Linked DNA regions of Homo sapiens: region 2 is linked to region 1. The links are contacts of gene promoters, found by promoter capture Hi-C in human tissues and cell types (Jung and others, 2019). All regions are on one chromosome and are shown on one strand. The core of a region is centred on a gene start or on the middle of the fragment in contact, and the rest is flanking DNA. Distances in the headings are between cores, read along the strand shown. Region 1 holds the start of HELZ (helicase with zinc finger). Region 2 overlaps PITPNC1 (phosphatidylinositol transfer protein cytoplasmic 1).

Region 1 (7,490 bases), core at 1,509-4,008:
CTATCTATCTATATACATAGATACACACATATATACACATATATACATATATACACACATATCTATACACACATATATGTATATATACACACATATATGTATATATACACACATATATGTATATATACACACATATATGTATATATACACACATATATAAAGTTCAAATTGGGAGGTCTAAGGCAGGAATATGCCTCCATCTGCAAAATAAAAATAAATTTAAAAATCCATATTTGCTCTGCCAAAAATAAAAATTATATGAAATAAACATAAGCACTGCTGAGTTTCAAACACAAGAAAATGCAGTATGTGCACTTACAAAAGAATCTTGGTTTATGTCCACCTTCCTTTCCTAAGTTTTTATTTTTTTAAGGCAAAATGTCAATTACATGCCTCAATCTAGAAAAAAAAAAAAGGATAGCTTATTCTTCTTAAACAGATGTTGTGATAGACACGAAAAATTTGTGAGAGGATTTCAAAATCCAGAGGCCCAGATGTGTGGAGAAACAACAAAAAAAAAACTACAGTAACCAATCGACCACAATTACTTATTATTTTTCTAAAAAAAAACTTAGTAAAACATTTTAAGTTGAGAAAACTCGTGAAAAATGTAAAAGTAGCAAACTTCTCTTCCTCTCTATAGCACAGAAAACTATTCACTAACACTGTATCAATAATATCCTTTAAATCCAAAGCATTACAAATTAGATTAAATAAAGCACTTTGAATAAATTCACACACCGTGTGTGATCAGGACATAATGACAAACTAGTCTATTTCCTAATAAGCTAAACAGATCTCAACACTATCATCTTTATTTCAAAATAATTATTAAAGAGAAAAGTACTACTCCATTTTTCAGAAAATAAAAGCAGGAGTGATTGACCTGCCTAATTCTTTCTAACGGAAAGGGTATACTTTACGAGTCCCACAAACCAGGTACACACAAAATCCATATACATAATCACCGGGACTAAACGTACAGTAGGTGATAGACACCAAAACACAAATAAAATTAAGACATCCAAGTAAAGTTACGCAAGAAAATTTGAATAGGCAAACTATAATTATCCCTGGTGAAGATACTGATCAAGAATAGCTGCAAGTAACATTTGGCTCTTAGTTAAGTACCACTATGTTTGAGTATGTTGGAGCAACTGAAAAGATTGGTACATTCAACATATTTTTCCTTTCTAAATCTAGCCCTGCCCATAGACCCACTGACTGAGTGATACATTTGGAAAACAAAGATGGCCCCATCAAATTACTCAGTTTCAGCCTTACTCTTACCAGTTGATTAAAATAAAGAAGGAAAAAAAGGAAATCATTTTTAACTGCAGTCTCACCTTACACATCTCACCAGCACTGTAGTTCATTAGTGATCCATTACTTCATCCAAATCCTGAGGCAAATAGAAAAGATGTTTCCATACAACACCAGTAACAGACATTATCAGTAGCAAACATTTTATCAGCCTGAAGTGAAAGGGCATCTACATTTAAAATGGAAAAAGTTACAAAAATGGTACAGTGTGCAGCTTTGCAAATGAGTCTGGTTTTTGACCTTAAAACATTTCCTTTCAGTAAGGTAAAAGAATAGATTATACAATGCTCTTAAAACTCAAAAACATAATAAAATCATCTTTTTCAACACAGACTGACCTTACTTTCAAAAACATAAAGAAATGAAGGAGAGGAAATTTCATTAATATGAGTTTAAGAGAGAGCAAAATTAAGAACAAACTAGGCAAGACAGACAACTCCTCCCTCCTTCCCCCGCTCCAGGAATCCACTGTCTCTGAAGTTACACTTTTTATTATATTAATGATTTGCCTGAGAAGTGTTAAGTTGTGAGGGAGAAGGAATGACAATTTTTGAACTGCAAACAAAACCTGAGGATCCCGATCCAAGAACAATCAGAGGACCCTGGCTTCCAGCCCTGTCTGAAGATTTCTCAGCAAAGGCGAGGGTGCAGAAGGCTCCAATAATTTAGGGGAGAGGAATCGAAGTTCCCTAGGTAAGACTGCAGTCTGTGAGCCCTTGAAAAGGGTACTGGAGTACTCTCAAGGAATCTCCAGGAAAAGAGAGCCTATCTTTATTTTTGTTGATGTGCTTGTGGGCCAAAGAGCATTTCCGAGGAGGGGGCGGGGAAAGGGGGGAAGAAAGTGAATCTCGGGCCGAGAGCCCTCCGCGGGGGAGGGAGGGGGCGCACGCCTGACCCACTTTTCCCCACGCCCCCGCTCCAGCCCCCACCCCACCCGGTGGAAGTCCGAGGCCTGAGGGGGGGCATCGAGCGGGGCGTGGGAGGCCCGCACGCTCCCCACCCCCAGCCGCGACCCGGAGGAGGGGAACGTGCCGGGAGGCTCGAGTCCCCCTCCCAGAGTGCTCTGGGCCGGAGAAACCTCCCGCAGGCTCCCGGGCCAGGCGTGCAAGGCCCCCTCTCCTGCCAGGGCCCAGGACGCTGCGGGCCCCAGCGGAGGGGAAGGGGACTAAGTAGGGGAAGAAGCTGTAAACAGCCCCAGCGTCCGGGCCTCGCCTCGAAGAGCCGCGCTTCCCAGGCCCAGCCGCGGGCCGCCCAGGCCCCCAGCCTGCCCCGGGGCCGCCGCGCCCGGGGTCCGGGACACCGGAGGGGAGTCGGGTCCCCTCCCCGGAGAGCTCCGGGAGCTCGCGGAGCGGCCCCAGGAGCAGAGAAGGGGGAAGTCAGGACTTACCTGTCATTACTTTCTACGCCATCTTGGATCCACTTGTCAACGTCCCCACAAAGCATTATGGGTAAGAAAGAGCCTTTAAAGTGACTCCCCCCGGCCCCCGACTCCCGCCTCCCGCCGCCGGCGCCGCCCCCTCCGGCCGCGCCTCCCGCCCGGAAAGTTGCCCCGGGTGGACTGCCGACCCCGGCGCCCGCAGCTGGCCCCTTCCCCTCCCCCGGGCTGACGGCATTGAAAATTCACCCGCATTTTTAAAACGTGGCTTTGGGGTTTTCTCCCTTTCTCCTGCCCCGGCCTCCCTGCCCCCACGCCCGGTCCTCTCGCCTCGCCGCGTTCCTGCCCGGGCAGACGCCCCGCGTCTGCATTGAATCAACCCGAGGTTTCCTTGCCGCCCGCGGCGCGGCGCGGAGCTGCTCGCGGATTTATTTGTGCGCGTGGATGTGAGCGTTTCTGCTCCTGCGGCCGCGCTTCCAGGAAGCCCGCGAGCGGCCGGGGTCGCCTTCAGAGGCCGCGCAGACCAGCTCCGCACCCGCCGCCCGGAGAGGTGCCTCTGCCCTGGGAAACCGCCCCGGGGCCGTTGGGCTCCGGGAACTGGGAGGACGCCGTGTCCCCGAGTCCACCAGCGTCGAAGCACGATTTAAAAAAAAAAATTGAGCCAAATGCAACTTTTTACCCCTTGTTTACTCTGTGTCCCGCGGTCTCCTCCTCCGGGCGGGTAACGTGATCCGCGACCCTCTAGGTGGGGACCCCTCCCCTAGGAATGTGGCTCCAGGCTCCGCGGAGCCACCCTGGGAGCGTCCGGGCTGCGGACTGTGACTCCGGGGCAGGTAATCCGGGGCGCCGGCTGCGGGCTCCGGGCGGGGCGGGGCGCGGAGGCAGCCAGGGCTCGGGGGAGGGTCCCGGGCGGAAAGCAGGGTGCGCCAGTCCGGGTCCACCTGGCGGGTCGGGGGAGAACCGCGGGCGCCGCTGCAGCTCGGGAGGCTGGAGGTGGGGACGCCCGGCGTCTCCGGGCTGCGACCCGCTGCGCTGGAAAGTGTGGGGCGCCTTGGCGCGGGCTGAGGTCTCTGACCCGGGCGAGTACCCCCAGCCCGCCGGCCACACTGCTGCCGGGCATCCTCTCCCCGCGACACCACGCCCGCTTTCGGCTGCGCGGGGCGAGCAGCGTACTGACCCCGGCGTCCAGCCGCCCAGGTCCCCCCAGCAACGGAGGCCCCTTGGTCAGCCTCCTCCCGCGCTCTCCGCAGAGCCTCTGGTCCCTGCTTTGCTGTCTTTGGAGGCCTGCTCCAGTTGCTTTTTTTTTTTTCCAAGCAAGTTTTTACAACAAGGAGATACCCAAAAGAAAATTCTCCAAGACAGGAATGCTTGCGAATTGTATTCGGTACAAAATGCTGTTGAACGGCTCTACCTTTAGAAGACCGCAGAAGCACTGGCATTAAAACCCTCTTTCGGTGCACGGGGAGGGCCTGGGGCCTTGGATCTACCCGAGGATTTTACGCTCCTCCAGACCCTATCAACAGCCTCACTAGGAACGTGAACGGTGGCAGACAGGAGCCCTGCCCCTGGGGAGCCAAAAACTCCACCAGGCAATTGTCCCGGTCTGATGAGAAGGTGTAGACACATTAAGGGATTGGCCCCGGGTCACTCGTGAAGGAGGGAACGAGGTAGTGAGTCATTCCCAGCCAAGAACGCAGCGTGCTGGGGAGCAACCTCCCCTGAGTCACCTGCTTCTCACCTCGGAATAAGTGGAGAAACTGGAGCCTGGAGCCAGGTTCTTAGACGGCCCAGCAAGGTAGCCACCAAGGGCATGGGCTAGGCTGGGGGGAGGCAGCGCCCCTCCTGCTGGAAAAGGGAATGCTTGGCCCGTCTGAAGAAGGCTCCAATGTCTCTTTCCAGGGTACCCCAGGTGCTTCTTTTCCAATTCCTCTTTTGCACTTATTTAGCCACTGGTATGCACTGGCTTAATGGTGGTTTTGTTTGCATGGCACCTTTAGGTATGTGGTCTGAGTTTATGCAAAAGTAATGACAAAAGCCGCAGTGACTTTTGCACCCACCTAATATAAGTAAACAGGAAATAAGTTGAGGGCAAGGACTGTGTCTCCCAAACACGTTTCTTTGATAAGCAGCCTTTCTTTGCCTTGTATAGGCATTGACCCAAATAAGTGTTCAGTTTGTGTGACTGCCCAACCCATTCACTGCCTCCAGTGTGTGCATCCAAGCCCAACCTTGTCAAATACACCGCCTGTTGCCTGAGCTGGGACGGCCTGCCGACTCTTCTCCCTGCCCCTCCTGGATACCTACAATGCATCCTCCACCTGACCAACCCTGTGATATTTTATGAATGTAAATCAGATCGAGACTTCTCTGCTGAAACCTTGGAATAAAACCCAGATTCCCAACCCTGGCCTACAAGCTCCTGTGTGAGGTGGTCCCACCTTCCCTCACCAGCAGTGGTCCAGGCTGGCCTTCTCTCTTTCCCTGCAGCGCCCCAAGCTTCCTTCCAGTGAGAACCCTATTCCCCCAGATCTTCTGATTATCTTTTCTTTGACAGAGTCTTGTTCTGTCGACCAGGCTAGAGTGCAGTAGCGCGATCTCAATTCACTGCAACCTCCGCCTTCTAGGTTCAAGCTGTTCTCTGCCTCAACCTCCTGAGTAGCTGGGATTACAGGCGTCCGCCACCGCGCCCGGCTCATTTTTGTATTTTTAGTAGAGACAGGGTTTCACCATCTTGGCCAGGGTGATCTTGAACTACTGACCTCGTGATCCATGCGCCTTGGCCTCCCAAAGTGCTGGGATTACAGGCGTGAGCCACCACGCCCGACCCATCATCTTTTCATCATATTTAGGTCCCCTCAAAGAGGACTTTTGTGATCCCCCTACCCAGACCAAGTCACTCTGAACACTTGACCTGTGTTAGAAGTTCTCTTGTTTAGGTCGGACGCTGTGGCTCATGCCTGTAATCCCAGCACTTTGGGAGGCCAAGGTGGGTGGATCACAAGGTCAGGAGTTCAAGACCAGCCTGGCCAAGATGGTGAAACCCTGTCTCTACTAAAGGTACAAAAATTACAGCGCGCCTGTAATCCCAGCTACTCGGGAGGCTGAGGCAGGAGAATTGCTTGAACCTGGGGGGCCAAGGTTGCAGTGAGCCAAGATCGTGCCACTGCCCTCCAGCCTGGGTGACAGAGTGAGAATTCCATCTCAAAAAAAAAGTTCTCTTGTTTGCCTGTTGTTAGTTGTTTCTTATCTGCCCCGCCCCCATTTGATCATATGCTCCCTCTGGGCACAGGCTCTGTCTGGCTTATTTGCCTCAGTGACTAGACCAGGGCCTGGCACATACATAGACGCTCACCAAGTATTAGTCGAGTACATGACCAAACTTCTCTCAGGGATGGGCGTGTTGATGAAAAGGAGTGCTAAAGTGTGAAGTGAGATGCTGAGGGCCCTGCCTCGCATCTCTTCAGACCACTGACCACACACAGCTAGAGGCAGGCAGAAAGGAACAGTGTTGAGGGAAAACAGGTCCCTTGGCCACCACTGATTTAGCTCAATTCTGATTCTGATCTCATGAACACACACAGCCCTAACTAACTGATCCCCCCGACATCACATCCCTCTTCCTTCCCACATTTTTTCTTTCTCCTCTGCTCCCACTGGCCGTGGCTTCTTTTCTTTTCTTTTTTTTTTTTTTTTTTGAAACAGTGTCTTTCTCTGTCACCCAGGCCGGAGTGCAGTGGCGCGATCTTGGCTCACTGCAACCTCCACCTCCTGGGTTCAAGCGATTCTCCTGCCTCAGCCTCCCGAATGCTGGCACCACAGGCACACACCACCACGCCCAGGTAATTTTTGTATTTTTAGTAGAGACAGGGTTTCACCATGTTAACTAGGCTGGTCTCGAACTCCTAGCCTGAAGTGACCCACCCGCCTCGGCTTCTCAAAGTGCTGGGATTACAGGTGTGAGCCACTGTGCCCGGCCGCAGTGCCTTCATTTTCTGCTTGGAGAGTCCCAAGTCTCAGTCCTTGGGTTTCTCTTCTACAACTACACTCCCTGGTCATTTGCCTTAGTACAAAAATTAGCTGGGCGTGGTGGTGGGCGCCTGTAATCCCAGCTACTCCAGAGGCCAGGGCAGGAGAAACGCTAGAACCTGGGAGGCAGAGGTTGCAGTGAGTTGAGATCGTGCCACTGCACTCTAGCCTGGGTGACAAGAGTGAGACTTCATCTCAAAAAAAAAAAGAGAAATAATTATAATGGACTGCCCACGGTGGCTCACGCCTGTAATCTCAGCACTTTGAGAGGCCGAGGCCAGGAGTTCGATCACTTGAGACCAGGAGTTCGGGACCATCCTGGCCAACATGGCAAACCCTATCTCTACAAAAAATACAAAATTTAGCTGTGCATGGTGGCTCATGCCTGTCATCTGATCCCAGCTACTCGGGAGGCTGAGGCAGGAGAATCAAGAATCGCTTGAACCTGAGGGGCGGAGGTTGCAGTGAGCTGAGATAGCGCCACTGCACTCCAGTCTGGGTGACAGAGTGAGACTGTCTCAAAAAAAAAAAAATTATAATGCCTTGAGGAATGTAAAGTACATCTAGAATTGAAATATTTGATAACAGTGAGTATAAATCTGAGAAGGGCGGTGGTTGCAGTTAGTGGAGTTAAAATGGTCCAAAGTAGGCCGGGCGCGGTGGCTCATGCCTGTAATCCCAGCACTTTGGGAGGCTGAGGAGGACGGATCACAAGGTCAGGAGATCAAGACCATCCTGGCTAACACAGTGAAACCCCATCTCTACT
Region 2 (7,490 bases), core at 1,777-4,276, 210 kb after region 1:
CCAATTAAAACCACATTTCAGGTTTGCTCTTATGATTTAGAAGTAAATTTAGAATCAGTTTCATGAATCTTGCAGTATTTTTCAAATTAATGTCTTTAGGCATTTGGACAATGGGCTGTGTGAATGCAAACTGCGTTTTCTTCAATTGCTATCAATTAGAGACAGTTAAGAACTCAACTGATGAAGAAATAGCCACCTGAAAGTGAGCCCACAGGCAAGTCACAGGCCCCTCTTCCTCCTGAAGGTGCACGGGAGACTTCGTTAAAAAAAAAAAAGCTGTAGTAAAATACGTATAAGATAAAAATTTACCATTTTAAGTTTCTTTTTTTTGAAGACGAAGCCTTGCTCTGTCACCCAGGCTGGAGTGCAGTGGTGTGATCACAATTCACTGCAGCCTCACCCTCTCCGGCTCAAGCGATCCTCCCACCTCAGCCTCTCGAGTAGCTGGGACTACAGGCGCACACCACCGTGCCCACTAATTTGTTGTAGTTTTAGTAGAGACGAGATTTTCGCTGTGTTGCCCAGGCTGGTCTCAAATTCCTGGGCTCAAGTGATCCACCCGCATCAGACTCCCAGAGTGCTGGGAAGGTGTGAGCCACCATGCTCGGCCCATTTTAAGCATTGTAAATTGTACAATTTAGTGGCATTAAGTATTTTCACAATGCTGGGCAACCATCATCACTGTTCACTTTCAGAACTTTTTCATCATTCCAAATAGAAATTCCACCCATTAAACACTAACTCCCCAATGTCCCCTTCCCCCACCCTCTGGTAACCTTTATCCTATGTTCTGCCTCTATGAATTGGCCTATTCTAGGTACCTCATAAAAGTAGAATCAATATTATGTGTTCTTCTGTATCTGGCGTCTTTTTCTTAGCATGTTTTCAAGGTTCAGCTGTAGCCCATATCAGAATCTAATTTCTTTTCCTTTTTTTGAGACAGAGTTTCACTCTTGTCACTCAGGCTGGAGTGCAGTGGCACGATCTTGGCTCACTGCAACTTCCGCCTCCTGGGTTCAAGCAATTCTCCTGCCTCAGCCTCCTGAGTAGCTGGGACTACACGCGCGCGCCATCACACCCAGCTAATATTTGTATTTTTAGTAGAGACGGGGTTTTGCCATGTTGACCAGGCTGGTCTCGATCTCCTGACCTCAGGTGATCCACCCACCTTGGCCTCCCAGACTGCTAAGATTACAGGTGTGAGCCACCGTGCCTGGCTAAAAATTCTTTTTTGCACATGATAAACTCACCTATCTTAAGTGTAAAATGAATAAGTTTCAGTAAAACAACAAAAGCTCTTAAGTTTTAGTAAATCCATACATCTGTGCAGCCATCACCGCAGTCCAGTTTTAGAACTTTCCATTCCCCCCTAAACATCCTCCTTGCCTGTTTGTGGTCAGTTCTTGCTCTTACCCTGATCCCCGGCAACTAGTGATGTGATTTACGTCTCTATAGTTTTGTCTTTTCTAGTAATTTCGTATAAAAATTATACAACATGTAGTCCTTTGAGACTGACCTTTTTTTTTTTTGTTTTGTTTTTTTTTGAGACAGAGTCTCGCTCTGTCGCCCAGGCTGGAGTGCAGTGGCGCGATCTCGGCTCACTGCAATCTCCGCCTCCCGGGTTCATGCCATTCTCCTGCCTCAGCCTCCAGGGTAGCGGGCACTACAGGTGCCCACATCACGCCTGGCTAATTTTTGTATTTTTAGTAGAGATGGAGTTTCACCATGCTAGCCAGGATGGTCTCAATCTCCTGACCTCGTGATCCGCACACCTCGGCCTCCCAAAGTGCTGGGATTACAGGCCTGAGCCACCACGCCTGGCCGAGACTGGCTTCTTTTACTCAACATAAAGTTTTTGAGTTCATTCGTGTTGTTGAATGCATCAGTGGTTGGGTTTTTTTTTTGTTGTTGTTTTTTGAGATAGGGTCTCACTGTGATCACCCAGGCTAGAGTGCAATCACAGTTCACTGCAGCCTCCACCTCCTGGGCTCAAGTGATCCTCCCAACGTCATCCTCCTGAGTAGCTGGGACTACAGGCACATGCCACCACACCTGGCTAATTTTTGTATTTTTGTTTTGTATAGACGGGGGTCTCACTATGTTTCCCAGGCTAGTCTCGAACTCCTGAGCTCAAGCAGTCTGCCTGCCTCAGCCTCCCAAAGTGCTGGGACTACAGGCGGGAGCCATCATGCCTGGCCAATAGCTGGTTCTTGTTTTACTGCTAATAGCATTCCATTATAGGGATGTACCACATTTTGTTTATTCATCACCAGTTGATAGAGATTTGTTTCTAATTCGGGGCTACTGTGAATATTGCTGCTGTGATCATTTGTATACAATTCTTGGATGGACATGTGCTTTCGTTCCTCTTGGGAAGATACTTTAAGGAGTGGAATTGCTGGGGTTTTTTTTTTTTTTTGAGATGGAGTCTCACTCTGTCGCCAGGCTGGAGTCACTGCAACCTCCTCCTCCTGGGTTCAAGTGATTCACCTGCCTCAGCCTCCCAAGTAGCTGGGACTACAGGCGTGCGCCACCACGCCCAGCTAATTTTTGTATTTTTAGTAGAGACAGGGTTTCACCATGTTGGCCAGGATGGTCACGAACTCCTCATGATCCACCCACCTCGGCCTCCCAAAGTGTTGTGATTACAGGCGTGAGCCACTGGGCCTGGCCACTGGGTCTTATATTAAACTTATGTTTAACTTATAAAGAAATTGCCAGGCTGTTTTCCAAAGTAGTTCTTGCATTTTTTTACTCTCACTAGCAACATATGAGCGTTTTGGGTTTGCCACATCCTTGTCAGTACTTGGTATTATCCGTCTTTTGTTTGTAGCGATTCTAATGAGTGTGTGGTGGTATCTCACTGTGGTTTTACTTTGCATTTCCTGTACTCTTTTAAAACTGCTTTCCATTATAGAACATGTTGTGTTGTGCTGTTATATATATAAAGCTTCTGCTCACCTGTGAGCTACTCTGTCTAGCTGATTGATCCAGTATTGTGTCCGGGGGCAGGGTACATGGAAAATGCTTAGGGTTTGTTGAGTGAATGAGCAAACTGATACTTTGTAGGAGTGGCCAATTTTCAAATATTTTAGGTAACAGAAAACAGTGGTGAATCAACTCAAAAGATGAGGTACCAGTCAAATCTCTTCCCTTTTGTCAGTTTCTAAGTAGTATTAAACTTGAGTGAACTAAGTTTTACTTTTTTTTCCTTTGCTTTGCTTACCCCTTGGTGAGAGGTAATGGAGAAAATATAGACAGAGCAGGAGGAGGAAAGAAACTCAATCTCGAAATGACTAAGAGCTTGTGGAGCAGCTTGGGAGAGAACCAGCTGGGTTATTGGCTACTCTGTAGTTCCAGGTGTGGGGAATTATTCTCATCAATACCGTGACCGCCTGCCACTCCCCTCTGCCCTCTTTCTTTGTGTTAATTAGAGCAGGGGTCTGCAAACATTTTCTGTAAAGAGAGTAAACAAATATGTCAGGCTTTGTGGGCCAAGAGAAAACATCAGCGACGTTGTGGAGGTGCTTACATAACGACAGACAAAACAAATTTCCATGAATTTTTATCGATGAAACTCCAAACATAGTAATGGGGTACGATTTTCTGTAACACAAGTCTGCTAATGAGAAGAATTGAATTATTTGAGGGAGGAAAACATTTTGCTTAATTGGAAGTTCAGAGTTAATGTTTCCTATCATCATGGTAGAAATGTGGCCTCATTCTTCTACAAAGCTTCTCTGATATGCAGTGGTCTTCCCTCCTGAGAATTCACCAGAATGTACTGGCTTGATTTGCCCTTGATTTGTTGGGGAACTTTTCACATGGGGGAAGCACATTAAGAGTACAGGCTCGGGCTGGGCGTGGTGGCTCACGTCGGTAATCGCCAGCATTTTGGGAGGCCAAGGCGGGCAGATCGCCTGAGGTCAGGAGTTGGAGACCACCCTGGCCAACATGGTGAAACCCCGTCTCTACTAAAAATACAAAAATTACCTGGGCCTGGTGGCGGGCACCTGTAATCCCAGCTACTTGGGAGGCTGAGGCAGGAGAATCGCTTGAACACGGGAGGCAGAGGTTGCAGTGAGCCAAGATTGTGCCACTGCACTATAGCCTGGGACACAGAGCAAGACTCCGTTCTCAAAAAAAAAAAAACAAAACCCAAAAGAGGACAGGCTCTAGGGTAAGACTCTGGGGTCTGAATTCCAGCTCAACAACTTATTAACTATGTGATCTTTCACTACTTACATAACCCATCTAAAAGCTTTGGTTTCCTGATCTATAAAATGAATAATAGTACCTATTTCACAGAGTTGCTGTATAGATTAAACACAAAGATTTAGAATGACATATTATACTTTTTATTCTTCTTTTGATTTTTTTTCAACCATTTAAAAATGTAAAACCATTCTTAAGTCATGGGCAGTATGAAAACGGGTGGCAGGGCCTGCAGGATATAGTTTGTGGACCCTGCATTGGAGTATGAACTTGAATTATTGCCGTTTACTTTAGAAACGATGATTGCTTTTTTCCTAATTGCAAAGCACCATATGTTCACTGCAGAAAACTTGGAAAACACAAAAAAGCACAATAAAACAAAAGCCATTCAGAATCTCCACCATCCAGAGACGTTTCATGAGTAGTATGTTGCCCCATAGCCTTCCAGACAATTGTGTACATAATACACATATTTCATTATTTTTTATTTTCCTTTTTTTTTTTTTTTTTGAGTCAGGGTCTCACTGTGTCACCCAGGCTGGAGTGCACTGGTGCAATCACAGCTCACTGCAGCCTCCACCTCCAGGGCTCAAGCAATCCTCCCACTTCAGCCCCCTGAGTAGCTGGGACTACAGCTGCATGCCACCAGGCCTGGCTAATTTTTATTATTTTTTGTAGAGATGGGGTCTTGCTATGTTGCCCAGGCTGGTCTTGAACTCCTGAGCTCAAGTGATCCTCCTGCTTTGGCTTTCCAAAGTGCTGGGTTAACAGGTGTGAGCCTCTGTACCCAGCCTACACATATTTCAAAGTAAAACCCAAGCCCATACTATGCATACTGCTTTGTATCTTTTTCACCTATTAATATGCAATGCTTGTCATTAATATTCTTCTATAACCTGAATTTTAATGGCCACATACTATTCTGTTATACTGTGTTAAAATTTACTAAAGCAATTTCCAACAACATTAATGCTGTTTTGAATTTTTCACCATTAGACTGAACTCAGCAATAACCTGGTACATACATGCTTATACACATCTCTTGATTCATTCCTTGGGATAAATTACAAAATTTAATCACTGGGTGACAGGGTATCTACATTTTTATTTATTTATTTATTTTGAGACAGACTCTCGCTCTGGAGTGCAGTGATGCAATCCCGGCTCACTGCAACTTCCGACTCCTGGGTTCAAGCGATTCTCCTGCCTCAGCGCCAGAGTAGCTGAGGTTACAGGTGCGCACCACCATGCCCAGCTAGTTTTTTTTGTTTTTTTTTGTTTTTTTTGTATTTTTAGTAGAGATGGGGTTTCACCATGTTGGCCAGACTGGTCTCGAACTGCTGACCTCAAGTGATCCACCTGCCTCGGCCTTCCAAAATGCTGGGATTACAGACGTGAGCCACCGCTCCCAGCTGGGTATCTACATTTTTAAAGCTTTGGTGTATCTTGCAAAGTTGTCTCCTAGGAAAGTTGTATAGTTAGTCATTCCCAGATGATGTATGGAGCACTGTTGTTTCAATGCCCCTCTTATATTTTTACTTGGTTACTGGGTTTGTGAACTTAAAAAATTAAAACATTCTTATTTTAAAAACAATTCAAATATATAAAACATGTACAGATAATAATGAAACGTACACTTATGTACCCAGCAGAAAGATTAAATCGGTGTTAACATTTTGCTGTATTTGCATTTGTTACTTTTAAAAAACACATTCCAGATTCAAAAACAAGTCTATTATTATCATCCCATTTTACAAGTGAGGAAACTGGCTCAAAAACTTTAAGTAACTTGTCTAATTCTTAAGAACCAGTAAGTGGGCTGTAAAGAACCAGTTGATCCTAATGATGCTTTTACCTTAGGCTTTTACTGATATTAATATAGCCCTTCCAGTCTTCTTCCCCTTTTTGGTCAGTTTCTGTCTGGTACATGTTTTCTAATGTCTCTACTTTTAAGTTTTGTATGTTGTTGTATTTTAGATGGGCCTCTTGTAAATAGCTTATAGCTAAATTAAGAAAAAAATCTCGAGTCTGGGTTTTTAAACCAGCTATTAATAACCTGTTTTTTAACCAGCTATTTCAGTCTGTTTGCATTTATAGCAATTGTTGATGTTTTTTGAATTATTTGTCTTATTTCATGCTTTCTATTTCCCATACTTTTTCTGTTTTTTCTCCATTTCCTGTCTCCTACTGAATTGAGTTTTACCAGGTTTTCTCTTTTTCTCTCTACTAGCTTTGTTATCCTAAAAATATTCAATGTGTATACTTAAATAGCAGTCAGAAATTACCCTATCACCTCCCCCACCCAGTTTTTTTCTTATTTAGTGTTTTAATTTCTCCTTTTTTGGTATTTTATTGTATTTTGTATTTTATTCACTGTTATTTTTGTTGTTTTGTGCAGCCCAAACTGTATATATTTTTATTTACTAGGGTCTTTACTCGTCTTTCTAAGTACTCTTTTATGTACACATTTTATTTTCTGAAAATATATACTTTAGTGCATTTTAGTAAGAGCCTGTGAATGTACTTAGTTCTTGTTTAAAAACAGCTTCTTTGTCCTCATCTTTCAATGACTCTCTTTTAGCTTAGTATAGAATCTCCCCTCAACCCTCTGAAGATAGTATTTCTTTGTCTTCTCAACTTTTCTTTTCCTCATTTGTTTTCTCAACTTCTCAACCCTCTTTTTTCTTATTTATTTGGAAATGGGGTCTCACTATGTTGGCCAGGCTGGAGTGCAGTGGCCACTACTGATCAGCACAGGAGTTTTGACTTGGGCTATCACTTCACCCCTCCTTAGGCAGCCTGGTGGTCCCCTGATCCTGGGAGATCACCATATTGATGCCAAACCTAGTGTGGATACCTGTTTGGAATAGTGCACTACAGCCCAGACCTCCTGAGCTGAAACGATCCTCCCTCCTCAGCCTCTGAAGTTGCTGGGACTATAGTCTCGTGCCGCCAAACCCTGCTCAGCTCTCATTTGTTACTGAGAAGTCTTCTGTCTGATTGCTCTTCCTTTGTAGGTAATCTGCCATATCTCTCTGGCTGTTTTTTGTTTTTTGTTTTTTGTTTTTTGTTTTTTGAGACGGAGTCTCGCTCATTCGGCCCATGCTGGAGTGCAGTGGTGCAATCTTGGCTCACTGCAAGCTCCGCCTCCCAGGTTCAAGCCATTCTTCTGCCTCAGCCTCCCGTGTAGCTGGGACTACAGGCGCCTGCCACCAGGCCCAGCTAATTTTTTTTGTATTTTTAGTAGAGACGGGGTTTCACCGTGTTAGCCAGGA

The links. The method cuts DNA at HindIII sites, captures the fragments that hold promoters and counts their contacts. A contact is called where the count stands out against the background at its distance.
Region 2: a contact is called between a fragment that was not itself captured here and the fragment with the promoter of HELZ in region 1, in 1 of the 25 tissues and cell types used here (adrenal gland).

The regions. Positions count from the first base shown.
Region 1 is chr17:67,242,438-67,249,927 of GRCh38, forward strand. HELZ (helicase with zinc finger) reads right to left here and starts at 2,759. Exons shown (of 33, transcript NM_014877.4): 1 at 2,711-2,759; 2 at 1,347-1,402. HELZ-AS1 (HELZ antisense RNA 1) reads left to right here and starts at 2,339. Exons shown (of 4, transcript NR_136398.1): 1 at 2,339-2,771. RefSeq lists enhancers at 1,983-2,970, 2,971-3,957 and silencers at 2,287-2,336, 2,437-2,926, 3,477-3,566, 3,577-3,776. The HindIII fragment of the contact is 25,130 bases long and covers 1-7,490 here.
Region 2 is chr17:67,450,113-67,457,602 of GRCh38, forward strand. The region is part of intron 1 of PITPNC1 (phosphatidylinositol transfer protein cytoplasmic 1); the gene reads left to right. It also overlaps the pseudogene RN7SL756P. Among named protein-coding and RNA genes, the nearest start is that of MIR548AA2, 18 kb to the right of the region's middle. The HindIII fragment of the contact is 3,857 bases long and covers 1,099-4,955 here.